Regions from separate parts of the Homo sapiens genome. Here all the other regions are linked to region 2. Evidence: promoter capture Hi-C in 16 types of primary human blood cells and fetal thymus (Javierre and others, 2016). All regions are on one chromosome and are shown on one strand. The core of a region is centred on a gene start or on the middle of the fragment in contact, and the rest is flanking DNA. Distances in the headings are between cores, read along the strand shown.

The links. Contacts are between HindIII fragments. The CHiCAGO score rates a contact against its expected background, and 5 or more counts as called.
Region 1: a contact is called between a fragment that was not itself captured here and the fragment with the promoter of SV2C-AS2 in region 2, in 6 of 17 cell types (total CD8 T cells, naive CD4 T cells, activated CD4 T cells and 3 more). The highest score is 7.2, in total CD8 T cells.
Region 3: a fragment that was not itself captured here is called in contact with the fragment with the promoter of SV2C-AS2 in region 2 in 1 of 17 cell types (total CD8 T cells); the score reaches 5.3 in total CD8 T cells.
Region 4: a contact is called between a fragment that was not itself captured here and the fragment with the promoter of SV2C-AS2 in region 2, in 1 of 17 cell types (M2 macrophages). The highest score is 5.4, in M2 macrophages.

The regions. Positions count from the first base shown.
Region 1 is chr5:76,598,608-76,602,969 of GRCh38, forward strand. IQGAP2 (IQ motif containing GTPase activating protein 2) reads left to right here. Exons shown (of 36, transcript NM_006633.5): 11 at 2,205-2,365. Among named protein-coding and RNA genes, the nearest start is that of F2RL2, 23 kb to the right of the region's middle. The HindIII fragment of the contact is 3,778 bases long and covers 1-3,408 here.
Region 2 is chr5:76,310,298-76,314,614 of GRCh38, forward strand. It overlaps SV2C-AS2 (SV2C antisense RNA 2), which reads right to left and starts at 1,332. Exons shown (of 4, transcript XR_001742750.2): 1 at 887-1,332. The region is part of intron 12 of SV2C (synaptic vesicle glycoprotein 2C); the gene reads left to right. The HindIII fragment of the contact is 6,036 bases long and covers 157-4,317 here.
Region 3 is chr5:76,623,417-76,627,866 of GRCh38, forward strand. It overlaps IQGAP2 (IQ motif containing GTPase activating protein 2), which reads left to right. Exons shown (of 36, transcript NM_006633.5): 14 at 3,994-4,084. Among named protein-coding and RNA genes, the nearest start is that of F2RL2, 2.2 kb to the left of the region's middle. RefSeq lists a silencer at 1-62. The HindIII fragment of the contact is 1,818 bases long and covers 1,815-3,632 here.
Region 4 is chr5:76,774,468-76,778,664 of GRCh38, forward strand. No RefSeq gene overlaps it. Among named protein-coding and RNA genes, the nearest start is that of F2RL1, 42 kb to the right of the region's middle. The HindIII fragment of the contact is 261 bases long and covers 1,942-2,202 here.

The DNA.
Region 1 (4,362 bases), core at 270-2,769, 290 kb after region 2:
TGCTGGGAGTATGAATTATACAGATTTTCTGCAGGGTGGTCTTAGTAATACAGATCAAAAGCCCATGATGCTGACAGTTACGTTCTAGAAAATAAGCCTGAAGGATATGAACCAAATAGCTTTGGCCACAGAGATGTTTCACAGCATTGTTTAGAATACTGAAAACCAGGAAACAAATGTTTAATTAATAACAGATTGCCTATAAATTAATAACATTTATGGTGCTTGTACATGTGAGAAATATGTGCAACCAGTAAAAATGATAATGTAAAGAATGACTGGAAAAGATATCCATACTAATATTAAGTGGGAAAAATAAGATTAAGATATATAGCATTATCTTGTTTTTTGCAAAAAGAAAGTGAAGTCAGTTATAAAGACAAAACCTCTGCAAATGTATATATGAATTTAAAATACATAAAAGGATATACACAAAAGAGCTTGAGTGGTAGCATTTGTTTTCTTATTCTTGCTTACTAAGACTTCTGTATTGGCTGAGTGTGGTAGTTCCTGTCTGTAATCTTAGCACTTTGGGAGGCTGAGACAGGAGGATCACTTGAGGCCAGGAGTTCAAGACCAACCTGGGCAACATAGGCCTCATCTTTACAAAAATAATAATAATAATTAAAAAGACTCCCTATGTTTCCTAAATAGAAATATAGTATTTGTAATAAAAGAAAAATAGCTTATTTTCTTAATTTCATTCAGGTTCTCTCATTAATATTTTCTTCCACTTCTCTGGCTCTGAAGCTCAAGGCTACTTATGCTTGAGGACACTCATTCATCCTCAACTGGCCATAGTTAACCTGTGGCTGTCCAACCTCATTTCTTCTTCCTCTCTCCTTATCCTTTTTGCTGTAAACCAATTTAGGTATCCACGGACAGGTCACTGAAAGAGATAGAGGAGGTGAATTATAAACGATTCCATTCTGCTCTTATAATTTGATACTTTGTATGTTAAACTTGTATTTAATGTAATATATTTAAATAAAATTTACTTACATGCTCTCGATGGTAACCCCTTCTTCCCATTTGCTTTGAAAGATTAAACTATCCCTTTTTATTCTGAAATCAGTTTGCTGCGAGACTTCTGTGGAGATCCAGAAAGATATAATAATGCATTTTAAGATGAACATTATGTTATATATTAAATACCTGTAATATCCTAAATGTAAAATATGTATCAGCTTTTCCTTAGTGGTTCTTTTTCATGCTCCTGCTCCTTATGTCCCTTCAATATGATGAAAAAAATATTCCTTTTGAAGTTGGGCCAAGATAATATAAAATGGTTAAATGGAAGAAGATATTAAAGGGGAAGGGTGTTCTGAAATCTAAGACGTATTTTTTTGGATAAGCTAAATCCAGATTTTAAATCATATAAACCTGGAGATCTGGCCAGGTGTGGTGATTCATGCCTGTAATCCCAGCACTTTGGGAGGCTGAGGCAGAAGAATCGCTTGAACCTGGGAGGCGGAGGCTGCAGTGAGCCTAGATCGTGCCATTGCACCCCAGCCTGGGCAACAAGAGCCAAACTCCATCTCAAAAAATAATAATAATAAAAATAAAGCAAACCAAACCAAACAAAAAAACCTGGAGAGCTTTACTTGCTTTACCAAAAGATCACCTCAGATTTCTTCAAATATCTTGACCTGGTAGTGTATTTTAAAATTTCTATTTTAAAATTTATGAAAATGTCACTTTAACTTTTTTTGAATTAAATCAGTAGTCTTGGTTTGAAGACCTTGCTTTGTGCTTCAGATTATAACTTTTCAGTGAAATTCTCCCAACCTTCCCTTAACCCTTAATTCAAACTGGAAATCGTTAGCTGTGCTAAAATGTTACCTGGCACTCTCAGTCAGTGACAATGTTATCTAGTCCTTGGCTTAATTATATGGCTGGACTGAGCCTTTAAGCAACCAGTATAGCTAGGAGTAGGGATCAGCAATGGGAATGCAGATATTTGTGGAATCGTAACTTTTCATTGTAATCAACCCAGTCCCAAAAAATGATCATCTAATGAAAGCCCAGGAGCCATATACCTGTTCTTAAAGCCAGTGGAAAGCAGGTGGCCACGACTCCTCTTTCTGCTGAGCTATCAAGTTCTTTGACTTTTTGTTGTTTGTTGAAATGTGCATTGTAAACCTCCATCATGCACATGAGGTGTGTTGTGTGGGGAGCTTATGTTGCCATATGTTTTCCAACAGAACTACTTGGCCCACGAGGAGCTTTTGATTGCTGTGGAAATGTTGTCTGCTGTTGCTTTACTAAACCAGGCCTTGGAAAGCAACGATCTTGTGTCTGTGCAGAATCAACTCAGAAGCCCCGCAATAGGCTTAAACAATCTGGACAAGGCATATGTGGAACGGTAAGGAACATTTTCCAAACCTTCTTTCAATGCAGAAATGCATGTTTGGCAGATCTTAAAAGTGAGGAATTTGCCTGTTGGTGGAGAAATCCATATACCATGCTCATGTTTCTTGAAAACTAGTCTGTTTTAAGAGTCCTTCTAATTAGTATCCTTGTTTACAGTATTCCTTCTGGGGAACAAGAAGAATCAGAAAGTGATCATCCTGTGGCAATTAATAAATGACTTTGTCGTTGGCAAAGATTATTTGATAGGCTGAAAATAAAGGAACTATTGGAAACATACCTTTCCTTGGGCGTCTTTTGGAAACCGCAGAATGTAGAAGAGTTGGAAGCAACTTTAATAATCATCCAGTCCAATTCTTTTATGTCACTGATGCAGAAACAGAATCCGGGTTATGGACCTAAAATTGGGCAGTTGGGCCCCAAACTCCACTCTTCTGATTATTAAGCCAAAGAAATCCTGAGACCACAGTGGGTCATGGCAGTGGGTAACAACATCCATTTATCTTTCATTTCATGTTTCTGAAGTGTGCTACCAGATAGTACAACTGATAGCATTGTTATAAAACACTATAGCGGATCTTGAGAGAAAATCAAATGGCCAGAATTGGGAGCCAGATGAGAGAGTCGCTGAGATAAAAGCCCCAGTTAAAATGAGTGAATCTTGGATTCTTGTAACCACCAGGGGGAGATGTCTGCACAGATCTTGACAAAAGCTCTTTTCAGCTACTGATTTTGGAACGGCTCTAATAGGCAGGTTGGCTAATTCTCTTGGGTCATGTACAGTTGCCAAGGAAAAACCAGAGATTTCTTAGGTTAAACAAATGGTATTTGACCACTTGTCTATGTAGTGAATGGCCAAAAGGTAATGGAAGGATGGTGGGTTTTCCTTGTTTTTAGTCTTTTTGGAGAAACTAATTCTCTTGTTCTACTTAAATTTGGCCATCTGGTTCATATGACTCCTTAGAGTGTGTTTCCAAGGTAATTTATATCTACCACCACTGTTTCTGTTACTTGTTAATGGCACCATTCTCTCCTGTAAGCTTAGAAACCTGAAGCCCAATTTGAGTTTCCCTCTGCCCTCAGCCGGGCACCCTCGTGCTCTAAAGAGCCTGCTGTCAGTAGCCAGTCTATGTGCCTTATACCTCTGCAAGATGTTTCCATTTCCCTGCAACCACCCTCACTTAGACTTCTCACTTTTGCTTCTGTAGTAACCCCTAAATTGGTCATCCTACTTCTTTTCTCTCCCCATTCATTAATCATTCCTACCTAACCAGGCTTTGCCATACTTTCTCAGTGCTAGAGTAGAAGACAGACCCGGTCAATCCCTTATGAAGCTTACAGGCTAATGGGGCATCTTGGTGAGATAACTGTCAAGACTATTCCACATATTTAGCATCCCTGGCAACTGTCCTCCACATGACATTAGCCCCTGACTCACCCATTCTGATTATCAAAAATGCCTGCTTCTTCATTTACAAATACCCTTAAAGAAGTGGTCCCATTCTATTTGAAAACCATATTCATACCTGTAGTTTCCAGCTGGGACCTACAGATGGAGCCTCACAGTTCGAGTGTTCTGTGTGAAGAACTTTTAAAATGTTTTGATTTTTTTTTTTTAATTTAAATACATTCTGGATCTGGAAGACCCAGTACTGACATGGGATTTAAGGGCCCACTTGGGTTCTTGTATTGACACTTGTATTGGCCCCAAATGATCTTCTACAGCCTTGGCATTTTACTTCCAAAGTCAGCATCTTAACTTGGGATCTTGGAATCCCAGTTTTGCAGATTATCAAGTTTGAGAAACACGGCTCTGTCCAGGGCCTCTCCCCATAGAGTGCAGGTTCTTCATAGCACAAGTGTGCTGTGCATGGCCACCTTGACAAATTCATGCAAAGTCTCTCCCTGTTCACCGTGGCTTCTACTCTTGGGGCTGTGTTTGCCCAGAGAGATTCTTTTGTCTAATTCTCACAAAAGTATTGTATGGGTTAA
Region 2 (4,317 bases), core at 82-2,581:
CTGTAAATAGAATGGTCTAGGGGGATGTGACTGTAAAGCTGACATTTGAGCAAAGACCCAGGCAGACATCTGGAGAGAGTGTATTCACAGCAGAGGCAACAGCAGGTGCAAAGGTCCTGAGGTGGGAGTGTGAGAGACCAGTTGGAAGAGAGGCAAAGCTTGTCTGGCTGGAGCAGAATGACCAAGGTAGAGGGTAAGAAGCCATGGGGTCAGAGTGGACAATAAAAGGGCTTTGGTCTTCTTGCTGAGTAAAATGAAATCCAATGTGGGGTTTGGGGGCAGATGAGTGACATGAACTGACTTATGAAGTCCACAGCAAGAAATGTGGCAAGAGGTAATGGTGCCAATGGAGGTGGTGAGAAAGTGGTTAGATTCTGAAAATATGTCTAAGAGAGAGACCTGGAATAGTTCAAGTCAAAGGAAACAGAAAACAAAGGCCTCCATAGAAATAACATGTCTGAGAGGCAAGAGTTGGAGTCTGGGGGTAAATCCATCAACGTAAGAAAATCCAGAGGTAACACAGATCTGGACTAAGAAATAACAGACACCAGAGTTAGGATACCAGGCCAGGAGACAAGAGTTCAGTGAGCTAGAAACTCAGGCTGGCAGAGTGGAATACAAAAAAACTAGCCTGGAAGCAAGTGGTCAAAGTATTAAGATGTCTTGATCTTCAAAAATGGTGTATGACATTGAGAGAAGGCTTTGCAAGTTAGACTTCCCTATAACCTCTGTGCTTAGGTCAGTAGGGCAGTAGTAGTTTGCAGCTGGTTCTCAATGACATTCATTGGACTGACTTGCCCAGGGCTAGAACTCACCTCAGGTAGAGGCAAGATATCAGAACTGTCTGCAGTGGAAGTTGAAGGCACCTCTCTGCTCATGCACTCACCTTGGTCAGTCACCTCTATCTTGATCCTAAACCTTCTTCCCAACTCTGTAGTAATAGCCTGAGATTCTTGCCAAGGCCAGCTTCCCAGTGCTGTGGTACGTCTGCCACAATGATTGAGATGCAGTGGTCGATGCAGTGCCCTTCTCCCCAAGGCTCTTAATTCTTAGGCGTAGACTTGAAGAAGCCAGGAATACTTGTACTTCTGCAGGGATGAGTGAGGTGAAGCGGGAAGACGGAAAAGCAAATGTTGCATTCAGGAATTTGTCCTTGATTGTGAGGCTGGAAAGACAAGATTGCTTTGAGAAGCATTATGAGGAAAGAAATGAAGAGCAGGGCAAAATGATAGACCTTTGAAGTTTGAGCCATTATTGAATATACAAGTCATTGTATAGTCTTTTAACAGTTTCTACATCAGCCCCTCACCTGTGTCAAAGATAAGCAGAGAGCCTATTATATGTAATGTAGATCACAAACAATTGATGTGGCATGAGATTCTTCTAATAGACATGAAATATGAATGTGACATGAGCCAGACATAGAATGGATTTTCCAGCTTGCCGTAAATCTGAAAGGAGCCCCAACCATCTAACATACTGGTGTGGGGGAGCTTCCTTTTCCCTCATTTCTCCGTCCCCAGTCCCTGCCACCAGCAAAATTACTTTCAACCCTCTTTGCGGTAGAACTGAGAACACCAACAGAAGATGCATTTCATTTTTTGGGTTTAGTCTGTGCTGGTCAGCTTCCCTCAATACCCTAACTGGGAAAAATAAGTCAATTTTCCCTCATCTCTTGAAGTCTTCAAAATGAAAGTATATGTAATGACAGGTTGAAATGGATTTTTTCCATCCATCAGGGTCCCTACTTTTCTCTCCCTGCTTTGTGAAAGTTGTAAATCTCTCAAAAGTCATAAATGTAGCTCCCGCGGTGTAGGCCTGTTCCAGCTCATTCCAGTTCTAGGTTTTGGCCTTTATGTTTCTCTGCGTCCAGGTGTTAACTTTCTGCTGCCACTATGTGGCTGTGGCCAAGTCCCCTGCTCACATTTCCTGTGTGCTTATGGCTCAGGGGCCACTTTTTTTTTTTGGGGGGGGGGACAGGGTCTCACTCTGTCACCCAGGCTGGAGTGCAGTGACGCAATCTCCACTCACTGCAATCTCTGCTTCCCAGATTCAAGCAATTCTCCTGCCTCGGCCTCCTGAGTAACTGGGATTATAGGTGCCTTCCACCACTCCCAGCTAATTTTTGTATTTTTAATAGAGACGGGGTTTCACCGTGTTGGCCAGGCTGGTCTCGAACTCCTGACCTCAAGTGATCTGCCTGCCTCGGCCTCCCAACGTGCTGGGATTACAGACATGAGCCAGCGTGCCCAGCCATTAGGGGCCATCTTTACCCCTCCTCCGTGGCGCTCGGGGCCAGGAGCGCACACCTTGTGAGATGCAGCCCACGCTCTCAGGGCCGTCCTGCAACTCTGCACAGACTCCCAGGGCCAGGCAAGCCTGTCTCATGGTGTCGTTTGGCCGCATGTTCCTGCCTTTCTCTGCCTACCTTCTTCCCTTTTCTTTCCCCCTTATGCCCCCTTATGCATGCACAGTTTCAGACATGAGGTCAGAAAGGATTTGAGGATCTGATTGTTCACACCTGCCGATCCCTGAGAGTCCTGGGCAGCTGCTGCCATCACCCAGTGCAGTGGGATTGGTCTCTTCCTTGATGAGCTAAAATCAAAACATTTTCCCAGAATTAAGCAACCCAAGCCCTTCCCTTAGGACTGTCCTTGTTTTGACAGAGTTCTCTTGTTTCCTCCCCATTCTTCAGTTCCGAAGGTCTGTCATCTTGGATCTCTTACTGACCAGCTGTGCGACCTCAGGGACACCACTCAGCCTAGCTGGGCCTGGATTGTTTGAGATTTAAATGAGGAGTATGAAATAAATAGCATCTCAGGGCCTTTCTAGCTCTAGAATTCTCTTCACTGTCGTCATCTGGTATTCTGTAATGGCAATTTCATTCATTCTTTCTTGAATACATTCTACGTCTAATATAAAGATAAATATCTCACTTATTTGTGAAGATTTTGGTACAGAGGAATCTTTCAGCTATCGCGACTAACCAACCTATGTAATCCACTCCATCCCTGGCCCTCTGCTCTGCTTGATTTTTCCTTATACGCCTTATCATTATATTATATATGTTTATGCTTTGGCTATCCAGCAAAAGTCAGATTCATTTTGTCTCTGGTAGTTAGAAGTAGAGGGTGAAGGGGGTGGGGAATATATGCTTCCTGCTCCCACAACCTTGCCATCAGGCAATATATTACAATGGAAGCAAATCCTGCCAAGTGTACTAGCACAAAAACAGTCACAAAGTTTGTTTTTGAGCTCCAAGGAAGTCCATCTCGCTGTCCTTGGGTACTGAGCAAGCCCTTGCATGAAAGGGCCATGTGCTTGATATGCTGACAGCAGGGCCACCAGACTTGTGGGCCAGCTAAACAAGGGAATGCCCCTTTAATTGTGGGGTGCAGGATAAGGGGGCTCTAGAATCTGGAGTCTAGACCAGGAGTACCATTTCACCAACTTGAGGCTGCAGGGCTTGGAGGACGCTTGTATGTTCATTAGGCTAAGGGCAGAACATTCTTTCCAATCATTGCTTATACAGAACAGCACTCACATCATCAGTGAAAAAATCATCTCCGTGGTCATTAACAAACCTTCTCATGCAGATTTCTAAAATGATCTTTAAAGCACTAAGTAACCATCTCTGGCCTGTTGATTCTTGATTAATGTGCTTTAAATTATATGGGTATGCATTAGAGACAATTTATCTATCAATCATATTGTTTATACTGAAGTACTTAAAGGAAATTATCACCCAGACCTTATGATGAGAGGATGTTAGGTTGCATGTGTACTTGTTTAACTCACTAGAATGTTAGCTCCTTGAGGGCAAGACATTGTCTTCCTTATTTACTGCCATAACTCTAGGTGAATGAATGAATGAATGAATGAAATATGCATTTGAGAATTAATTTGGCTATGGATGATAGTTTTCCTCCCCGTATGGGGTCCAGCCTCCCAGCTTTCCAGAGTGAGCATTTGGGCCAGTGTAAGGGAGGGAGCACTGGTCTTCAGTCCTCTCTGCTGTCCTTTGGGTCCCTTTCCACTTCTTCCATCACAGCCTGAGACCTCCTGATCCTTCAGCTGTCAGCTCCCCGTTCCTCATAAAGCATTGCCTATTAGAGATCCACCTCCCCCTCTCCCTCTACTTCATCAACAAAGTGGAGGAAAGCACTGATCTAGGGGTCACTGAATTCAGGTGCAGTCACTGCCAGAAAAATAGCTGGATAATTTGGAAAAGGCCTTTCACCCTTCTGAGCCTTGGTTTCCTCATCTGTGTGGTGGAGGGTGGGTCGGGCATGATGCTGGAAATTTTAAATGATCTCA
Region 3 (4,450 bases), core at 1,474-3,973, 310 kb after region 2:
CGATGCTTCAGTAAGCATGACTCAGGCCAAGCCTCTGAACGTGTTACGTTATCCCTGGAGAAAGGCATTTAACTCTTACCCACCCCCAACAATCTATTCTGAATAGGTGCTGTAATTCTCCCCTAGTAGATTTGCTTTTAAAGAATGGCAGAAATTACACAGGCCTTTACAGAACTAAGCCAAAAACAGATGTTGAACAGCAGTAAGTTTTGAATCTGTCCCACATTTCATTTCTTATCCGTTTTAAAAATGCAGTTCCAGAGTGTAATTTCTACTTAATAAATTATCCTTTCCTTTATCTTCCCAGCTATTTCAAATCTTAATCCTTAAACACTTTACATAATTATAAATTAATCATGGAAAACAAACTTTTAAGAAATTCAAATTGAGCGGTGAATCACTTTGAAAATTTTCCATCAATGTAATATTGATTTCAGTTTGTCGTCAGTGCCTGGCCAGAACCTGGCTTTTGAGTGGTGGTGGTTTTTCTTCGCCGGGTGAGGATGGCGTTTGTTCAGGCTTTTTTTTTTTTTTTTGCCTTATCTTGATGTGTTTTGAGCCATTCAATAACCCTTAGGGTCAGATAACTGGAGGAACCTCCCAAACAACGCTGTTCAGTTAAACTAAAATCATAGCACATCATGAAAATGAGGACTCCCTTTATTCCATGAGTGTTGGTGAATAAGTCTACAATAAGATATTTTTAATAGTGGTAAAATATACGTAACATAAAATTTACTATCTTAACCAGTATTAAGTGTACAGTTCAGTAATGTTAAATACATTCACATTGTTGTACAACATATAAGCTTTTATGAATTGTTATATTCTGTAGAGTATGACTTAATATACAGTAAAAAAATGCATTATAACACATTTTTCTGTAGTTAATAAAACTTAAACTTGAAGCCTGACCATCCCACAGCCTGCTCTTTACAAAATGCAGCAAGAATCAGAAAATACAAATTTCACATGAGACTTAAAGGCTAGGGATATGCTAGGAAGAAATTGATCTGCGGAAACCTTTCACATCTTGATTAAATTACATTAGACCAAGATTTTTACAAAGGTCAGTGTTTAATACTTCAACTACATAATATATGGTTATACAAACTGAGATAGAATGTTATTATATTGCAGAAATATAAAACCTAAAATATTGACAAAGGTTTTTTTTGTTTCATTAGAACTTTTCTGGGAGTTATCTAAATTCAGGAATTTATGACTTGATTTGCACATGGCCTAGTTTCTGGTCATTTAATTCATTTGTAACTCTTATGTTGAACCTGGCTGTTTAACTGAAGTGGAGGTGTGGCCGTCCCATAAATATACTATTATTTTCAGTCTTCTGGTGAACAACTGAAAAAGCAGACTTGGCTGGGCACAGTGGCTCATGCCTGTAATCCCAGCACTTTGTAAGGCTGAGGTGGGGGGATCACTTGAGGTCAGGAGTTTGAGACCAGCCTGACCAACATGGTGAAACCCCATCTCTACTAAAAATGCAAAAATTAGCTGAGCGTGGTGGCGGGCGCCTGTTATCCCAGCTACTTGGGAGGCTGAGGCAGGAGAATAGCTTGACCCTGAGAGGCGGAGGTTGCAGTGAGCAAGCCTGGGTGACAGAGCAACACTCCATCTCAAAAATAAAATAAATAAGAAAAAGCAGACTTTACATTGATAAGATTCAGCTTTTACTTTTGGTTTTACATTTAACTCTAGTAATCGTTAGTTCAATGTTTCATAATTTAAACCGTTGACTTAAATTCATCTGATTTGTAATTTCTCTCTTCAGTTTGGCCTATAAGACTAATACTTTAAGCTTTGAAGTAAGATTGTTACTGCCTTCTCATCTGGGTAGAAATCTGTGTGGTGTATCTTCTACAGTGATAAGTTATGAAGGAAGGCAAATACCCTTCAAAAGAACTGAGACACATAAATGAACTCATAGAGCTTAGTTTTTAGGTTATAGCTGGGGAGTGTTGGGTTCTCTTAGATCTTGTAAACAGAGAAAAATTAGCTCCTGCTTCCCTGTCTCTTTTTTTCCTCCTCTAGTCTTCCCCTTTCCACCCGGCTTCCTGTTTGAGCCTCCCCCATCCATTCTTGAAAGAAATGGAAAATCTTGCTGATGCTTCCCTTGTAGTCTGCCGCATAGCTAGAGGTGATTGTGGAAGCAGGCACCAACACTTCCCCAGAGGTCTCCTTTAGCCCAGATGTTGCACGATGAAATAACAGATAGTTTATCTCATTTTCAGAGCCCTTTCCACATGCATTATCTCACGTTAACCTCTGAGGAAAATAGTGTTAGAAGCCTGCCAGAGGAACCAGTGACTATTTCCTCTCCTTCCTGCCCCCATCCATCTTAAGTTTTAAATGACGGAGTCGGTGCCAGATCCATTACCTTTCATTCATCACAGTCTTGACTTAGGATTTAGAACACGACACTTATTCCTACACATAGGTAAAATGTTCCCATTTGTTAAATGTCACATGTTTCCTGAAAATATCTCTGCTGATAATTATTTACTTGCCATCTCAGAAAAGATTTTATAAAACACAATTGCTACCTGGAAGTTCCACTTAATATCTGTCAGGGCTGCTTTTGTAGCAGGACCATCAGAATCAACCCAAAGTTAAATAGGAATATTTACCTATAATAGGAATAATGCAATACATTTTCATTGCTGCTGTTGCTTCCTTTCTAAAGCTATCTTTAACTACTTAGTCTTTGCTCCCCCTGCAACTTGACACCTTTACCATAGGTTAACCCTTTCTCACCTATGTCTGGATCATGTGTCTGCAGTATATATTGCCCTGATCACATTGTATTATAATTCTTTTTCTTTTTTTTCTTCTTTTCTTTTTTTTTTTTTTTTTTTGTGAGACAGAGTCTCACTCTGTCCCAAGGCTGGAGTTCAGTGGCCTGACCTTGGCTTACTGCAACCTCCACCCACCAGGTTCAAGCAATCCTCCCGCCTTCCTCCCAAGTAGCTGGGACTACAGGCATGCACCACCACTCCTGGCTAATTTTTGTATTTTTAGTAGAGATGAGGTTTCACCATGTTGGCCAGGCTGGTCTCGAACTCCTGACCTCAAGTGGTCCACCACCCTCAGCCTCTCAAAGTGCTGGGATTACAGGTGTAAGCCACCATGCCCAGCTATATGTCTTGACACATCTGTCTCTTACACTACATTGTTAGGTCCTTGAGGACAATCACCATGTTGTTGTTTGTTTTTAATTTTTGTCTCTGTGTCTGATAAATATCGACGATCCCTGTGTTTCTCTCAAATTAAAAATATCCCATGGTACCCTGGGACACCTTGACACTTAGTTTGGGAACCACAATAATTGATTGAGGGAGAGAGTGTTTGACTAGGGTAGCCCGGGAAGACTTTTTGGAGTAGGTAGCATTTGAGTTGAGACCTGAATGGTAAGAAAAAGCCAACAGCCACACAGTGAGGGTAGAGTATTGTGGTCTGAAAGAGACTCGTGTGAAGGTCTAGAACAGGAAGGGGGAAGTAAACGGGTGTGAGGTGCAGCCAGAGAGGCAGTAGGCAGGGCCATGCCGTTGGAGCCCCGCCATCCCTGAGAAGGCACCCTGTGTTTCCTTCTAACTGCCGGGGGAAGCCTTTGGGGAAGCTTTAAGTAGAGGAGTGGTGCACTGAGCTATCTATTTTGAAGGGATCCTCTGGGCCCTCTGTAGAGGGCCACTGTGGTGAGGGCAAGCTTAGATGCAGCAGAAGCTGCTAGGGGGCTGATGCAGCTGTCCAGTTGGGAGATGATGGGGGGCTGGACTAAAGAGTGGTGGGGAAGAAGGAGGAAGTGGTCGGGTTTGGGGTCTGCTTCATTAGGAGTGTGTACAGTATATGGCAGAGCTGGATAGTTGCTGATTAAGAATTTGTGGGAATTATGATTAAATGGCTCCTCAAAAGCAGTTATTAATTCTGTTTCCTCATCATTCACTCTTCTTTCTTTTTATTCTGTGACATTGTCCCCAGGACTCTGAGAGTGTTTCCAAAGTGCTTTGGCTGGATGAGATACAGCAAGCCGTCGATGATGCCAACGTGGACAAGGACAGAGCAAAACAATGTAAGCCCTCACCTCCTTTGCTCTTGAAACTTGCCTTTTTGGATTTGGTTATGTGCCTGAAGTCATGTGATTTTTAATTTCTGAAAGATTTGGATTCTTACCAAGTTTTAGTTCTTGGACACATAATTATACCGAAATTAGTTGGTTGCCCTATTGTCAGTGATTTGACTCTATCTCCAACAAAATGTAACAATGTTGCTGAACAAAATCCAGAAGGTAAAAAATAGTTTTTAAGCTCTCAAATTGTATAATTGAATAAAATTCTTTTTTTCTCTTGATTTTTAGAGAACTAGACCATTTCTACTTAATAAATGCCTTTTTCTCCTTTCCATGGCCTTTATAGTTACCAGGGTTTTCCACAGAAAC
Region 4 (4,197 bases), core at 822-3,321, 460 kb after region 2:
TGAATTATAGCTTTTTGTTAATTTGATTTCACAGCACAGTTTTGAAAATCACCCCAAAAAGTACTGCATGGCTTGAGCTGGCTTTTAACAGAATAAAATTCAATTCTGCTTTGAAGTCTTTATGACCTCCTTTACAGAAATGGTGACATTGTGGGGTTCTGAGCGCACCCTGAAATCACAGGTCTTGTGTGACACTGTGAAAATTACCCAGAACCCTGGGCACCCACTCCTCCACTACGGAAGTCACCAATGCTGGCAAATAGCATAACGGGCTTGTGGCGCCCCCTACTGTCCACTAGGCAAACTGCATCACCTTCCTGAGCTACGTTCCAGGGTGAAGTTAAAAAAGAAATCTGCACTTGGAAAGACTGCATGAAGGCAGTGTCAGGCACGTGTATTTATTTACGTTCTTTAATCAATAGATATGATTTCCAAAATTATTTACATAACAATTTGGGAAATTTGAACGTAAGATGGATATTAGATGATTTGGGAATATTAAGTAATTTTCAAGCCTGGGACCGACACCTGTATGGGAGCTGAGGCAGGAGGGTCACTTAAGTGCAGAAGTTCGAGACAGACAACACAGTGAGGCACCGTCTCTACAAAAAGTTAAAAAAAAAATTAACCAGGTGTGGTGGCAGGTGTCTGGTCCCAGCTACGTAGGAGGCTGAGGTGGGAGGATTACTAGAGCCTAGAGGCCGAGGCTGCAGTGAGTGATGATTGTACCACTGTATATCAGCCTGGATCAGAGTGAGACTCTATCTCTAAATAAATAATGATAATTTTGTTTTGTTTTGTTTTTTTGAGATGGAGTCTTGCCCTGTTGCCCAGGCTGGAGTGCAGTGGCACGATCTCAGCTCACTGCAACCTCCACCTCCTGGGTTCAAGCAATTTTGTCTCAGCCTCCCAAGTAGCTGGGATTACAGGCCCACACCACCACACCTGGCTAATTTTTGTATTTTTAGTAGAGACAGGGTTTCGCCATGTTGGCCAGGCTGGTCTCAAACTCCTTACCTCAAGTGATCCAATCGCCTCGGCCTCCGAAAGTGCTGGGATTACAGGCATGAGCCACAGCTCTCGGCCAATGATAATAATTTTTAAAAAGCAAACTTCTACTAATGAATATCTACATAGAGTGTCCTTATTTTAAGAGATGCATGCTGAAGTTTTTAGGGATAAAATGTCATAATATCTGCAACCAACTGTCAAATGGCTTTAACTCTCATTCAGAGCGAAAGCCAAAGCCCTACGATGACCTACAAGGCCACGTTTAATCTTCACCACCCCTCTTCTCTGTCCTCATCTCCTCCTCCAATCCCTCCTTCTCCCAGCACCAGCCACACTGACCTTTTCAATCATCTGCATACTCTGGCCTCTTCACACCCACTTCCCTGGGCCCAAGATGCCCTTCTCATTAGAGTCTGCATTGCTGGCTCCCTCACTGCCTTCCTACCTCTCTTCAAGAGACTTCTTTTTTTTTTTTCCTTCTTTTTTTGTGAGACAGAGTCTTACTCTGTCACCCAGGCTGGAGGGCAGTGGCAGGATCACAGCTCACTGCAGCCTTGAACTCCTAGGCTCAAGCAGATCTTCCCACCTCAGCCTCCGAAGTAGCTGGGACTGCAGGCACCGGCCACCATGCCTGGCTAATGTTTTTATTTTTTGTACAGGTGGAATCTGCCCATGTTGCTCAGGCTGGTTTCAAAATCCTGGACAGGAGATCCTCCCGCCTCAACCTCCCCACATGTTGGGATTACAGGTGTGAGCCACCTTGTCCGGCCACAAAGATATCTTAGTGACACTTCCTGGCCACAGGCTAAAATTTAATCTACCACTTACCTGCGTTGTTTTCTCTTCTTCGCTCTTAATACAATTTAATGCACTAAAATTTCACTTATCTTTTTTATTGTCTGTGTTGCCCAAAACATCAGTTTACATAAAAGCTTTGATAGTGGTTGTGTTCATTGCTGTATCCACTGGACCTAAACTAGTAACCAGAATATACTTAAAACTCATCTTATATACAATGAGTGAAAAAATAAAAAGCAGTGTGTGGGCTCAAATTTTTACTCTTATAGTCAATTTGCAAATTTTGTTTTAGACTGTGGCATGTACAATGTGTGAAAGATGCCATCTGTTGATGATTGGCAGATTTGACTGGTTTGTGCTCTGAATTAAGAATAATTTACTTTTTCCAATATAAGCTTTAAGTTGAGCCTTTCTAAGTTAAAAAAAAAATCTTCCATCGTATGTCTTTTAGGTACCATTGACATCTTTCCAGGCTTTCACGACAAATTCAAAGGTCAGTGATGGCTATACACCCCCTGAGATGGGGTAGCCGGGTTATGGGTGATTTTTGTCTATCTTTAGTAAACATAAAATTTCACCCAAAATTGTTTCTAGAACAAACATAAATATAAGAGTAGGATATTAGGGCCAGGCGCAGTGGCTCATGCCTATAATCCTAGCACGTTGGGAGGCCGAGGTGGGCGGATCACTTGAGGTCAGGAGTTCAAGACCAGCCCTGCCATCATGGTGAAACCCCATCTCTACTAAAAATACAAAAATTAGCCGGGCGTGGAGGCGCGTGCCTGTAATCCCAGCTACTCGGGAGGCTGAGGCAGGAGAATTGCTTGAACCCGGGATGTGGAGGTTGCAGTGAGCCGATATTGTGCCATTGCACTCCAGCCTGGGGTATGACAGTGAAACACTGTTTCAAAAAAAAAAAAAAAAAAAAAAGGAGTAGGATGTTAGATAAGTTCAGGGATGATAAAGCCATAATGGGTTAACTAGGATGGGGGTTGATTCGTAAGCTTTGAGATCGACTTTTAGAATCAGGCATATAAATCCTGCTGGATTTGAATGCTGTGTAGGATAGAGCACAGGTCTGAAAAAATATGAAAATTCTAATATCTTTATGTACCTAAAACATAGCCTCTTGCGTTTTTTATTTTTATTTACTTATTTATTTTTGAGACAGAGTCTCGCTCTGTTGCCCAGGCTGGAGTGCAGTGGGACAATCTTAGCTTACTGCAACCTCTGCCTCCCAGGTTCAAGCGATTCTCCTGCCTCAACCTCCCAAATAGCTGGGATTACAGGTGCACGCCAGCAGACCCAGCTAATTTTTTGTATTTTTAGTAGAGACAGGGTTTCACTGTCTTAGCCAGGATCATCTCGATCTCCTGACCTTGTGATCCATCCACCTTGGCCTCCCAAAGTGCTGAGATTACAGGCGTGAGTCACGACACCCGGCCGCCTCTTGGGTTATTTTTAAAATCACAGAGACTAGGCTAGTATTCCTAGCAGCAGGTAGAAGGCAAACCCTGTCCATATGGACCTCTGGATGCTGACAAATAAAAATGCATCTCTTTATCAACCTTGTAAACCAGCCCCCTTCCCATTACTGTAGTTGGCTGAGATTCTCACACTGTGAGATCTCCATTCCATTTATTCATATTACTCATTTACCAAAAGTGTATTGGGCCCAAATTGTGTCAGGCAAACTGAAGAGAACAAAAATGAATATTACACAGTGTACAGAGAAATTATGTTTTAAATTTATTAGAACTCGAATTGCAAAAAGAATCAGTAAGGTTGTCCTTGGTGCCATGGTTAACAGTCCTTTCAGATAAAGATCAGATACTTCCAAGTTCAGTTAAAACTTACTTTCGGCTGGGCCCAGTGGCTCACGCCTGTAATCCCAGCACTTTGGGAGGCCAAGGCAGATGGATCACTTGAGGTCAGGAGTTTGAGACCAGCCTGGCCAACGTGGTGAAACTCCATCTCTACTAAAAATACAAAAATTAGTCAGTCATGGTGGCAGGCATCTGTAATCCCAGCCACTCAGGAGGCTGAGGTGGGAGGATTGCTTGAGTCCGGGAGGTGGAGGTTGCAGTGAGCTGAGATTGCACCATTCCACTCCAGCCTGGGCGACAGAGCAAGACTCTGTCTGAAAAAAATAATAAATTAATTTCAAAAAAAAAAAAAAAATATATATATATATATATATATATATATATCAGAAATAGAGCATACAATGCAGTTCTGTAATTTGCACTTAATATATTGTGAGCATATATGCACATTCATAACTACATATCATTAAAAAGTAATTACTCAGGCTGGGCGTGGTGGCTCACGCCTGTAATCCCAGTACTTTGGGAGGCTGAGGCGGGAGGATCACTTGAGGTCAGGAGT